Regions from separate parts of the Homo sapiens genome. Here all the other regions are linked to region 1. The links are contacts of gene promoters, found by promoter capture Hi-C in blood cells and fetal thymus (Javierre and others, 2016). All regions are on one chromosome and are shown on one strand. The core of a region is centred on a gene start or on the middle of the fragment in contact, and the rest is flanking DNA. Distances in the headings are between cores, read along the strand shown. Region 1 holds the start of SERINC1 (serine incorporator 1). Region 2 overlaps SMPDL3A (sphingomyelin phosphodiesterase acid like 3A). Region 3 has its middle 46 kb from the start of SMPDL3A. Region 4 has its middle 35 kb from the start of FABP7.

Evidence for each region. The method cuts DNA at HindIII sites, captures the fragments that hold promoters and counts their contacts. A CHiCAGO score of 5 or more calls a contact.
Region 2: a fragment that was not itself captured here is called in contact with the fragment with the promoter of SERINC1 in region 1 in 1 of 17 cell types (monocytes); the score reaches 5.1 in monocytes.
Region 3: a fragment that was not itself captured here is called in contact with the fragment with the promoter of SERINC1 in region 1 in 8 of 17 cell types (megakaryocytes, total B cells, naive B cells and 5 more); the score reaches 8.4 in megakaryocytes.
Region 4: a fragment that was not itself captured here is called in contact with the fragment with the promoter of SERINC1 in region 1 in 1 of 17 cell types (monocytes); the score reaches 5.2 in monocytes.

Annotation. Positions count from the first base shown.
Region 1 is chr6:122,469,915-122,473,132 of GRCh38, forward strand. It overlaps SERINC1 (serine incorporator 1), which reads right to left and starts at 1,893. Exons shown (of 10, transcript NM_020755.4): 1 at 1,785-1,893. The coding sequence starts at 1,823. It also overlaps a transcript of PKIB not described here. RefSeq lists enhancers at 1,543-1,942, 1,993-2,052. The HindIII fragment of the contact is 8,379 bases long and covers 1-3,218 here.
Region 2 is chr6:122,793,931-122,797,001 of GRCh38, forward strand. SMPDL3A (sphingomyelin phosphodiesterase acid like 3A) reads left to right here. Exons shown (of 8, transcript NM_006714.5): 2 at 1,747-1,960; 3 at 2,894-3,038. Among named protein-coding and RNA genes, the nearest start is that of SMPDL3A, 6.2 kb to the left of the region's middle. The HindIII fragment of the contact is 1,132 bases long and covers 883-2,014 here.
Region 3 is chr6:122,833,770-122,836,774 of GRCh38, forward strand. No RefSeq gene overlaps it. Among named protein-coding and RNA genes, the nearest start is that of SMPDL3A, 46 kb to the left of the region's middle. The HindIII fragment of the contact is 292 bases long and covers 1,360-1,651 here.
Region 4 is chr6:122,743,655-122,746,688 of GRCh38, forward strand. It overlaps the pseudogene RN7SL564P. Among named protein-coding and RNA genes, the nearest start is that of FABP7, 35 kb to the right of the region's middle. The HindIII fragment of the contact is 717 bases long and covers 1,301-2,017 here.

The DNA of each region.
Region 1 (3,218 bases), core at 643-3,142:
ATGAGCACATTAACTGTTAAGAATGTGGAAGAGATGGTCCCCTTCAATGACTATTGGCCTGCAGTAAAATCAAACAATTAATGAATAGAGACAGAGGCACAAGGAAGAAAAGGGAAAAAGATTACTGAAACTGCAAACAATAAAATAAATTCCAAACTGAGCACGGTAGCACCTGCCTGTAGTACCAGCTACCTGGGAGGCTGAGGTTACACTTAAGCCCAGCAGTTCCAGGCTGCAGTTCACTACGACCATCCCCTGCACTTCAGCCCGGCCAATACACTTAGACCCCCATCTCTAAAAAACTGCCTCACTGCTTCTACCTTTTTAATGTACTTCGCTATTAACACAGAAACTAAAAGGCAGGGTCAATTTTATCACGGACATTCTTCTAATCAATAAAGGTGGCGATCTATTTTGTAAAAGGGAAAACATGTATCTCATCTTTTAAATCTCTATTATATACAAAAAACTACAGCACGCCCACTTCATAACTGGACAAGATACGACATTACAAATTGAATTGCATAACATCTTCCAATAAAAAACCGATGAAAACAATCTTATATGATAATCAATTATCAGTTTTCAAAACTGTTTATCACACTAAATATGCCTCTTTTGTATAAAAGTCAATAATTAAACTCTCTAATATCTTGAGATAAAATATTCCAGGCTTCCGTGCAAGAAGAAATACCATATAATCAAAAGAACAGACTGGCTGGAGTAACAATCCCCACATTATTATTTGATTAAAATTCAACATTTTTAGTTCAAGACATATCAAAACCTTTAAGAGTATATATAACGGAATCATTTGGGAAGTCAGAAAAGCAATTGTTAGAAACAGAATTAACAAATTCCAGACTAAAGAAAAGTGATTTGAGTCCAAATACCTCGCCTAAAATTACAAATATCTTTATTAACTGCACTGCCAATGTTTTGCCTACTATTTTGGAGGGGGCAGAGATTATCTTAAATAAACTGAAATTTGTGCCACACGGACCAAAGTCTTGCCACTATACTGAAAATAGTTTTACTCTAACAACTCTTTAATGAAAATGCAATGTACAGCTAATTAAGCATGAAATTTCAGATGACACACGCATGTTTTGTGCCTAAAGACAAAATTGTCATTAGGCACAAGGCATGCGTGTGTCATCTGAAATTTCAATTTTAAGTTGAAATCTGAAATTGACACTTCAAACAGTTACGGCAGAGCTATGACTATTTGTTTCAAAAACAATATTACTACATTAGCATTACTGCCAGGCGGTTCCAAATGACGACAGGCACTTTTTAATCATAATCTGCGCCACTGAACAAAGAGGGCGACATGAATCCAGGAACGACAGTGCGGCAGTCTGAGGTCGCCAGGAAAGAGATGACAACAGAGTGGGTACCCCACCGAAGGAAAGGGGCAAAGACCTTTGTAGAGATGGCCTGCGCAGATACAAACAAAACCACGAAAAGGGACCTCAAAGAATGGGAGACAGCGTTCACGAAGCAGGGGTGGGGGAGGGGCCCTATTCTAGTTCTCTTCCTCAATTTGAGTCATCTTCCCATCGCCACTAAACCTTACGGCCAGTGATCAGTTCTTCGCAAGACCCAAAGCTCTGAAGCTGAGTCTGAGTGACGAGAGGAGACGGGAAGAAAACGGGGACAGAGAGGGCACTCCCTGTTGGGTGGGGCACCACATTCCCGCCGGGCTCACCCAGCCCCGGCTCGGATCGCCTTCTCTTTGGTCTCTCACACTAGCACCCCAGAGGCCGCAAAAAGCACCTTACCCAGCTCGCCATGGAGCACAGCCCCAGGACGCTCCCCATCTCCACAACGTCACAAGAGCAGCGGATACAGACAAGATGGAGACAGCTTCTTTCTCGCCTTTCCGAGATTATTTACTATCTGCGAGACACTTCCGGACGCACAGCGCAACCCGCCCCTCAGCCTCGCGTCACTTCCTTCCAGGCCTGGGTAGGATAAAACACGGAGCGCGCAGCGCTGAGACTGCGCATGCGCGTCACTAGACGACACGGCTGTCTTCTTTCCTGGAGAATTTCTCAAGGACTGCTGGCTGGAAACTTAACGGCTAATGTGGATCTGACCGTAGTTTGCCAAATTAAGAAAACGGTGTGAGCAAAACCCACCTTTACCTACCATGCACTTGCATTTGGGCATTAGTAGAGAACAGAGCTGAGGTGGTGGTTGACGTTTTGCCCTCCTTCATCTGAGGAACCTCTCTGCTTTTTAGGGGATTGCTTCCTCTTTCTCAGTCTTTGTCCGTCCTAACTCCACTTATTTCCCATTTTTCCCACGTTTGCATCCTGTTTTGCTCTTGCGTTTGCAACGTATTCCTGCAGCCCGCTGCCCGGAACAAGTTTTATTGGGATATTTATATTCATCTGTGTGCTTCAGTTTCTCTGTATCATTTCTGTTTGCTATTGACTTATATTTTAATTTCTTATGCTATTAAGATGTTACAAGAAATTTGCACGTTAAAATTATTTTTAATTAGTTAGATAAGACATTATCAAACTCAAACATTGATTTCGAATGTCATGAGCTGTTGAGGCATGTGGAACCCTTGCATATTAGGTGATGATGCACATCTGCAGGGAATGCATTCCTATAAAAGTTCCAGTTATTTTTTTAGAGTTATTTGTTCTTGAAAATATTCTGGGAAACAGCTCAAACTTGAAATAGTCATTCCCATAACTAATAATAAGAAAGTGTTGTAAAATCTACAAAAATTGCATGGGTCGAGGTGGGGTAAACACCTAAGAATCTGGAAGAATGTCAGAATCCCTACTCCTAGTTATTGTAACCACTAAGGGACAATCTTGCTTTATTCTTCTTTGCCTTATCTGTGGTTTTGTAGACCACTCTTAAAGCAAAGTATTATAATAGAGCATCCATAAGGTTTAAAGAATTGTGGAAATGCTTGTAATCCCAGAACTTTGGGAGGCTGAGGCAGGCGGGTCACAAGGCCAGGAGTTCAAGACCAGCCTGGCCAGCATGGTGAAACCCCATCTCTACTAAAAATACAAAAAATTAGCCGGGCATGGTGGCACGCGCATGTAATCCCAGCTACTCGGGAGGCGAGGCAGGAGAACTGCTTGAACCCGGGAGGCAGAGGTTGCAGTGAGCCGAGATTGGGCCACTGCACTCCAGCCTGGGCTGCAGAGCGAGACTCCGTCTCAAAAAAAAAGAATAGTGGAAAT
Region 2 (3,071 bases), core at 199-2,698, 320 kb after region 1:
TCTAGTCATAATCAGAGTAAACTCAAAAACCCAAAAGTGTGGAAAAAAATCTCTTTATTAAAACAATTTGAACATGGTTTATAAGGATCATTGAATATATATATATATAAATGATGTATAAACAAACTTGGAAGCCCTTCAGTATGGGAGTTCAGATTTATTAGCTGTGTATACTTTAACAAATTTTCTATTTGACCCAGCACTGGTTTTTCAATTCTAAAATGAGGACCATAATTCCCAGTTCGGAGAGCAGTTTTGAGAATCAAATGACATAGTATATTTAAATTGCTTATCACAGTGCCTGGCACATAGAAAATACTTAATAAAGAGAGATACCACTGTGATTATTTGTTCTAGTATTACCTTCAATAAAGGAAACTTTCTTGGCCGGGTGTGGTGGCTCACGCCTGTAATCCCAGCACTTTAGGAGGCTGGGGCGGGCACATCACGAGGTCAGGAAATCGAGACCATCCTGGCTAACATGGTGAAACCCCGTCTCTACTAAAAATACAAAAAATTAGCTGGGTGTGGTGGCGTGCACCTGTAATCCCAGCTACTCAGAAGGCTGAGGCAGAAGAATCGCTTGAACCCGGGAGGTGGAGGTGGCAGTGAGCCAAGATCACGCCATTGCACTCCAGCACTGGAGACAGTGTGAGACTCCATCTCAAAAAAAACACACACAAAAAAAAACTTTCTTAAGATGATTTCCAAGTAAGGGTGCTATCAAATGGGCTTGGCTGCTTCCTAAAAACCCAATGGAAGCATCCTTTTTAACAACTGCTTCCCTTAATTTTATTAACATTTTATATGAGTATATGATAGAAGATGTACCTCTATTAAATAGCTTTTAAGAAGCTTTGGGAATTCCTATTTTTGGCTTAAAGCTTGTATTAGAGATTTATGTTCTTTGAATTAATGTTGAGAGGCAAGGTTTATAAGAAAGTAAGAGTGATATATAGTTCCTGGTTCTGCAGTCTACCTACTCACTGTGTAACCCTAACAAACGACATCATATTTATACGTCAATTTTTCTACAAGAAGAATGTAAATAATTTGTAAAATCTTAAACTCTTAAAGGAGACATGCTATTAAGACACAAGATGATGTCATCATTGGCCTCTCCGAAGGGTATTTTCATACATTTTATTATGGAAACATAGCTTTGCTAAATATTCTTTGTTAGGTTATCATGCTGATACTAATACTGAGCTCATCGGTTCTTTTTTTTTGAGACGGAGTCTTGCTCTGTCGCCCAGGCTGGAGTACAGTGGCACGATCTCAGCTTACCACAACCTCCACCTCCCGGGTTTAAGTGATTCTCCTGCGTCAGCTTCCCAAATAGCTGGGATTACAGGCGTGTGCCACCACACTTGGCTAATTTTTTATATTTTTGGTAGAGATGGGGTTTCACCATGTTGGCCAGGTTGGTCTCGAACTCCTGACCTCAAGGGATCCACCTGCTTCAGCCTCCCAAATTGCTGAGATTACAGGCATGAGCCACCGCGCCCGGCCTGAGCTCATCAGTTCTGACACACTTAAGTAGTAAATTGTTCCTACAGTTCCTTGAAGCTCATCTTCTCACAGAGAAGGACTGTATTTAACTTCGAGGCTTATGAACATTTAAATTACCAAGGCTTTCCTCCATCACAGGGAGGAACAACCGTCTCTAGTCTTAATATAAATATTTTTATGAGAATTCCAAAAGAGAACAAGTAGATTTATCTGCATTTTTTGTGTAATCAACAGGACAGTTTTGGCATGTGACTGACTTACACTTAGACCCTACTTACCACATCACAGATGACCACACAAAAGTGTGTGCTTCATCTAAAGGTGCAAATGCCTCCAACCCTGGCCCTTTTGGAGATGTTCTGTGTGATTCTCCATATCAACTTATTTTGTCAGCATTTGATTTTATTAAAAATTCTGGACAAGAAGCATCTTTCATGATATGGACAGGGTAAGTGATTATACAAGTACCATTAATTACTCAATATTTATTTACAGTGTCCTAAGCTTCATAAGAGTGCTGAATTCCATAATAAGATTAGTTACATTTTAAGAGTTATTTGAGTTAAAAAAACACTAGGTCAAACTAATCAACATTATTAGAGGTAAGAACAATTTTAGAAGTGTTTTTTTTTGGAATACAGATTTCAGAAATATGTCAGTGTTAACTAAGAGATGAATCCATAAACAGCACACTTGCATCAATATCTTGAGGTGTTGATATTAGGTCTTCATGAAATTATCAAAGACAAAAGGCAATAATGGAAGTTTACCTGTCATGACAATTTTGTAAAGCATCATCTTCTGGCAGTATAACTAACTGGTTCCCTTCATCATTATAGGGTGAAGAGGCCCATATTTCTTTACCTGGAATAATGACCATGGCTAATACTTGTAGAATATTTACTTGGGGCTTGGCACTGTTTTAATTAACTTATACATTGTAACTTATTTAATTTTTACAATGGATATTATTATTCCCATTTTACAGATGAGGAAATGAAGGCACTGAACATCTAAGTAACTTACGAGTATACACAACTAGTAATTGGCAAAGCTGGGATTTGAAATAGGCATTTGGGCTCTGGTTCAATTGGCATCTGCTTTTAATTATTGCAGTTTTTAGCCTCTTATAAATCTTCAGTCAGGTAGTGAAATAGGCTGGGATTTCCAGCTTATTTTTTGTATTATATTTTGTTAATTTTCTTTTATAGGATTATCTGTAGGGTAGAGGTAAGTGAAGAGTAGTCTATCAACTCTTTAGCTGTAATCTGCTGTTTTAAAATGGAAGTCTGCAGTGATAGGTATAGCAACGCATCATGCATAAGTCTAGTAACTCTTTATGAAACTGATTTTGTTCTTTACAATCTCTCTCTTTTTTCAGGGATAGCCCACCTCATGTTCCTGTACCTGAACTCTCAACAGACACTGTTATAAATGTGATCACTAATATGACAACCACCATCCAGAGTCTCTTTCCAAATCTCCAGGTTTTCCCTGCGCTGGGTAATCATGACTATTGGCCACAGGTAAATTTGATAGACTTTCAGAAATGCTTAAAG
Region 3 (3,005 bases), core at 256-2,755, 360 kb after region 1:
CTGCCCCCAACTTGCTCCTAGGTTTTTGTAGTGGTTATATTAATTTTTATCTAGAAATATGTATGTACATTAACAGAGCAGTGGCAGAAAATAATACTTCTTTCAGTTGGGAGGAAGGTTAATCAACATAATTAGAATGTTTCTTCTGTTATCTTAATGTTCTGGTTATTCTCCCTCAGACTTCATTGCTTAAAAGAGACTATATGCTTTAAAACCATAGTAGGCTAGTACCCATATGTCTCATCAATATCACATATTGTTCAGGGGAGGCTTATTTGAAAGTAATGTGGCACATTGGTTTTACCAGTGTTGTTTCTGAGGACTGTACCATGGAGATTCCATATGCCTTGCGGAAGCAGTTTTAGTTGGTGTTGATAACCCATTTTCACAATAGGTTTCATGGCAATCAACAGTGTTTTGACCCTCAGTTTGAACATCTGATCAAGAAGGTTTTTAAAATAAGAGCCTCATTCTACTGAGGTCCACTAACTTCTCTGTAACATGTGAACCAAACCCTAAAAGCATTTCTTGCTGCTTATCTACAATAGAATTGCAGATTATTTGTTTGATCACATGGGGCTAACAATGGTACCCCTCCTGATACTACTTTTTTTTCACAAATTAAAGGAAAGAGGAATTTGTGTTAAAAATAAAGGAAGGAGGAATTTGTGTTAAAAATAATAAAGTATGTTTTCTTATTCTTCTGGGAAGAGAGATAACTTTCTGAGAAAATTTATTCTAGTTATGAAGCAGAGGCACCGAATCACACACTTCAAATCTTTGTCACTTTTAACAAAGCTGATTGATTATGTGAGTTTATGCCTGTCACCTTTCCTTTGGTAAAGGAAGCCTTAGCTTTGTCTTTAATGTCTGAAATGTTAACAAGAATATCTTTATGTATTATTTAATAAATTTTTTATTTGATAAGTAAAGTAGCATTGTCACTGTAAAAAAATTAGAAAATGCAGAAAACATGAAGGAGAAAAATCATTCCATTATTCTATTACATAAAGGGAACCTCTCTTATTATTAAGTGATTGATAGGCTGACAGGTTATTTGCTAAAAGGAAAGCATCCAACTATCCAAGTTAGTTCTGGCACTTTTCTTTTTTAGTACTTGTTGCAGCTGAAATGATCTAATCCAGGGGTGTTCAATCTTTTGGCTTCTCTGGGCCACCTTGGAAAAAGAAGAATTGTCTTGGGCCACACATCAAATACAGTAACACTAATGATAGCTGATAAGCTTAAAAAAATTGCAGAAGAGATCTCATAATGTTTTAACAAAGTTTATGAATTTGTGTTCAGCCACATTCAAAGCCATCCTGGGCTGCATGCAGCCCATGGGCCATGGGTTGGACAAGCTTGATCTAGTCCTTTGTGAAATTTTTATTTTTATTTTTGGCTATCTCTCCACAACAAATATATAAGCTCCATGAGGACAGGTGTTGTTTTCTATGTTGTTCACTGTCGTGTCCCCAATACTATTAAGAACAATGTCTGACACTAGAAGCCATTCAGTATTTGTTAAATATTGCATTAATGAACAAGCATGAGTTACCTTTCAAGAGTCCTTGCCCAGTTGAACCTATCCTGTCTAAGCAATTTTTTCTCTTGATACTTAAATTAGCATTACAGAAAGAATCTTTCCCTAAGCTTTACATAATGTTGCAAAATCAGAAGCTAAGACTGTTGAACACTATGGGTTTGCACGGTTAGGGCAGGTTCCTTTATGTTTGTTATTAAATGATTGTTCTATTACTGGACTTCTTGGGTTGTTCAAGCTACTTTTCTTTGGTTTTCACTGAACGGAATGGCATGGATGGATGGCCATGCCTTCCTTCAATTCCTTCTGGCCTCACTGGCCTTTTGAACCTGCCAAACTCTTGTGCAGGACCTTCGCATGAGCTGTTCCCGTGCCTAGAAATCTCTTCTATGCTCTTCAGGGGACAGTTCTTTCAACTCTGTACTTGGCTGTCAGTTTCCCAGAGCAGACCCCTGACATTGTAGAGGTGTCTGTGTACACACACTTATCACTGTCTGATATGATATCACAATTGCTTAACTATTCATACATATGACATTTGTATCTATTACCTCTGTTCCCCCATCTTGCACTAGAATGTTTTCATGAGAGCATGAAATGTTTTTTGTTTACTGCAGTATCCTATAGACAGACTAAAGTAGCCAAAGCTTTATCCAAGAAACCTTACATTTACATGATATGTGCTAAGTACTAGGAATTTTAAGATGACTATGAGACTATCCCGGAGCCTCTGCTATGAACAGGCATTGTGAGCATTGCCAAGGATACAACCTTGAAGGAAGTGAGGTGAGGCAGGGTGATGCAGATAGATAATTAGAAAAATACAAATCTATCTAGGTGGTGCAGATAGATAATTAGAAAAATACAAATCGTTAAATAATTACAGTTTTGATAAGTGCTGCAAAGGAAGTCCCAGGTACTAGAATATAGCTGGGATCTGGCTTGCATGACTTTGTTACAGTAGGTGGCTAGTCAGGCATGAATGGGGCAAGAGAGGGCTCCCCCATCACCCCATCAGAAAAGTCGGGTGACCATCAGGTGATGGTCAGACAGTTGTCACACTGCCTCTAAAATAATAATTGGTCGCAGCCAGTGCCAGGGAAAGGCAGTTTCCCTATAGACAGGAAAAAACTGAAACTGGTGATCAGCAGCTTCCTGATGAGATCTTAGGAGCTGGGCAAGTGGGCTCACACATGTGCACTAAGAGGCAAAACGGTGGAATTTAACTGGTATATGACCTTCCGCGCCCATTCCACGGCAAAAGGGAAGAATGCCTCAGGTGAGCATGCGTACAACTCCAGTAAACACACCGTGCATGCTCCCCTCCCAAGCACTAGCAGGCCACTGTGTATGTGGACAACCCACACCAAGAGAAGAATCAGGGGAGAAGGAACGCAAGACCCAGAATCACGCCAACATATAAAACCCCAAGTCGGGCCGGGTGCAGTGGCTCACGCCTGTA
Region 4 (3,034 bases), core at 409-2,908, 270 kb after region 1:
GGCATCAAATTTCAAGATTATGCATTTGGGAATCCCTTTTTCTTCTGTTCTGGCTAATACTTGTATCATTTATGAGTCCTCACCAGTCTTCAGTCATTAATCTTATTTCAAAAACTGTGGACATGGGAGGCTCAGAGGGGTCATAACACACATCTGGTTGGTCGTTTCCTGGCTACATACCTTGTACTGAGTGTCATTATATAAATATGTTCCTTTTAAAGTTCCTAGGCATTCATAGTAACTATAGAACAGAAAGACTGTTTTAACTTGCTGCCCTACCTCGGTAACCTGATGTATACACTGAGAGCAGTCTCCATGCAGGGAAAATCAGTGGAAGTTTTTACTATACAAGTCCAAATTATAAGGAAAATGAGTCTCATGATGATTCTCCTCATGCTTCGGCTGTGCGTGGACCAGTCAGCTTCCGGGTGTGACTGGAGCAGGGCTTGTCGTCCTCCTCAGAGTCACTTTGCAGGGGTTGTCCAGGCTCTGTTTTGCCTCCCAGGTTTCAGTGGCTGAAAGGTTTCACACGGCTGTGGTGGATCCAGGCTGGGATTCCTTCTACCTTTACAGCCGTGGGGGTGGTCAGGATGACGGTCTGAGGTCCTTTCCACCGTGGCCGCAAAGGGGCTACGTTCCAGTCCTTGATCCACACGCCATCACCTGGAGAGTAAGGGTGAACTGGGGAGAATAAGCTGATGGGACACCTCTCATTTACCCAAGTTGAGATTGTTTGTGTAATTTTTCCTAAAGCCTGTAGCTGTCGCTGTAATTCAATTTTACCTAACTCTTGGGGAGTGCCTGGAAGCTCCTGTAGTATTGGAGGAGGCCTATGATACAGCATTTCATAAGGGGAGTATTCTATTTTCTTAGAAGGAGTGCATCTAATTTTAAACAATACCATAGGAAGGGCCTGTATCCGCTTTAATCCTGTTTCATGACATACTTTCCTTAAACTATTTTTGATAGTCTGATTCATTCGCTCCACCTTTCTGGAACTCTGAGGTCGGTAGGCGGCATGTAGCTTCCAAGTGATTCCTAATGCCTTTGCTGTCTTCTGTACCAAGTCAGCCACAAATGCTGGCCTGTTATCTGAGCCGATTCATAAGGGCAGTCCAAACCTAGGAATAAGATCTCGGAGAAGCACACGGGTTACCTCGTAGGCCTTTTCAGTTCGTGTTGGATAAGCCTCTACCCACCCAGAGTAAGTACACACAAGAACCAGCAAATACTTGTTACCTCCACATTTCAGCATTTCTGTGAAATCCACCTGAAGATCCTCAAAAGGAGCCGCTCCATAAGCTTGTATGCCAGGTGGAACAGTGGGGCCTTGCCTCTTATTGTGCTGTCGGCAAGTAATGCACTGTTGTGCTACTGCTTTGGCAAGGGCTGGCAAGAGTGAGATGTAGAAGTACCGGCCTAACAATTTTTCAAGTGACTCTTGTCCTAGATGAGTGGTTTTGTGCATGGCCAATATGATTATGGCTCCTAGCAACTGCAGCACAGCTACTCTTCCACCTGGCAGTCTGATCCATCCTCCTTTTATTACTTGCCCCTCTTCTGTGTGGAAGAAGTCTTTTTCTTCCTTAGAATAGGTAGGTACCAGGTCAGGTGTTTGAGGGAGTAAGGGGGCTGCTACTGATGCCCGGTAAGAGGTAGATGCTGCTTTTCGAGCTTCTGAATCAGCTGTAGTGCGCTATGCCAATTGGGTGTCTGCACTAAGTTCAGCATCAATATGGTGACCTCCCGGAAGCGGGGGAACAGCAGGTTGCCTAAGGAGGGGTGGACCGGCCCAGGTCGGAAATTGAGCAGGTCAAAACTCCCGTGCTGATCAGTAGTGGGATCGTGCCTGTGCTGTCAGCAGATCTGAGCTTTCTTCTTGGACACCTTATACCCACAGTCCTCCAGGTGCCAAAGCAGGGCATCCGTCCCTTTAGCACACCTGACTGCTGTGGAGTGTCCCAGCAGAAGGTTGTCCACGTACAGGAGCAAGATGCAGCCTAAGTCTTTAGCAGGAAGCTTTTGCAGGTCTCGAGCCAGGGCCTCCCCAAAGATAGTAGGGGAGTTCTTGAACCTTTGGGGAAGCCGGGTCCAAGTGTACTGAGTAGTGACACGTGACTCCGGATCTTCCCACTGAAAGGCAAACAGCTTCTGGCTCTCAGGAGCTAGTCTGATGCAAAAGAAGGCATATTTTAAGTCCAGACAGGTAAACCAGCTGTCCTCAGCTAGCAGCAGCCCTAATAATGTGTAAGGGTTAGGAACTGTTGGGTGCAGAGTCACTGTAGCTTGGTTGACCAAGCATAAGTCCTGTACTGGCTGGTAGTCCTTGGTCCCTGGCTTAGGCACAGGCAGGAGGGGGGTGTGCCATGGAGACTAGCAAAGAACTATAATTCCATAGGCTTTGAAGTGCCTGAGATGAACCTGGATTCCTTTAAGAGCTTCTCTGGGAACTGGATACTGCTTTTGTCTAATTGGTTGTGCCCCAGGCTTAACTTCTATGAGTATGGGGGCTTGGTTGACCACCAGTCCTGGAGGATTATCCTCTGCCCATACTCGGGGCCATTGCTTAGCTAGAGCTGATTTTATCTCTTGGCCTGGCTTGGTTAGAAAAAGTCTCCATTCTTCTTCCCGGGGGACCGTAAGGGCCTTGATAACTCCTGTTCCCGGTAACTTTAGCTGTAAAGAGCCCTGTTTTGTAAAGCAGATGGTGGCTCTCAGCTTGCTAAGCAGGACTCTTCCCAGCAATAGCAAAGGACAGTCAGGCATGTACAAGAACTGGTGAACTATCTTATGTCCCCACACCAAGCAGGTCCGTGGTAGACAGAAAGCCTGCTTAGTGGAAACTCCTGTTGCTCTGATTATATCAATGGTTTTCTTGGATAAGGGGGCGACCAGGGTTGTCACTACTGAATGTTCAGCACCAGTATCGACCAAAAATTTAATGTCCTTGCCCCTAATTGTAATCCTGACCATGGGCTCCTTGGTGGTGCTTGAGCCCGGTCCCCTTCAGTCCAGTAGCCCTTCAGCCAGATTG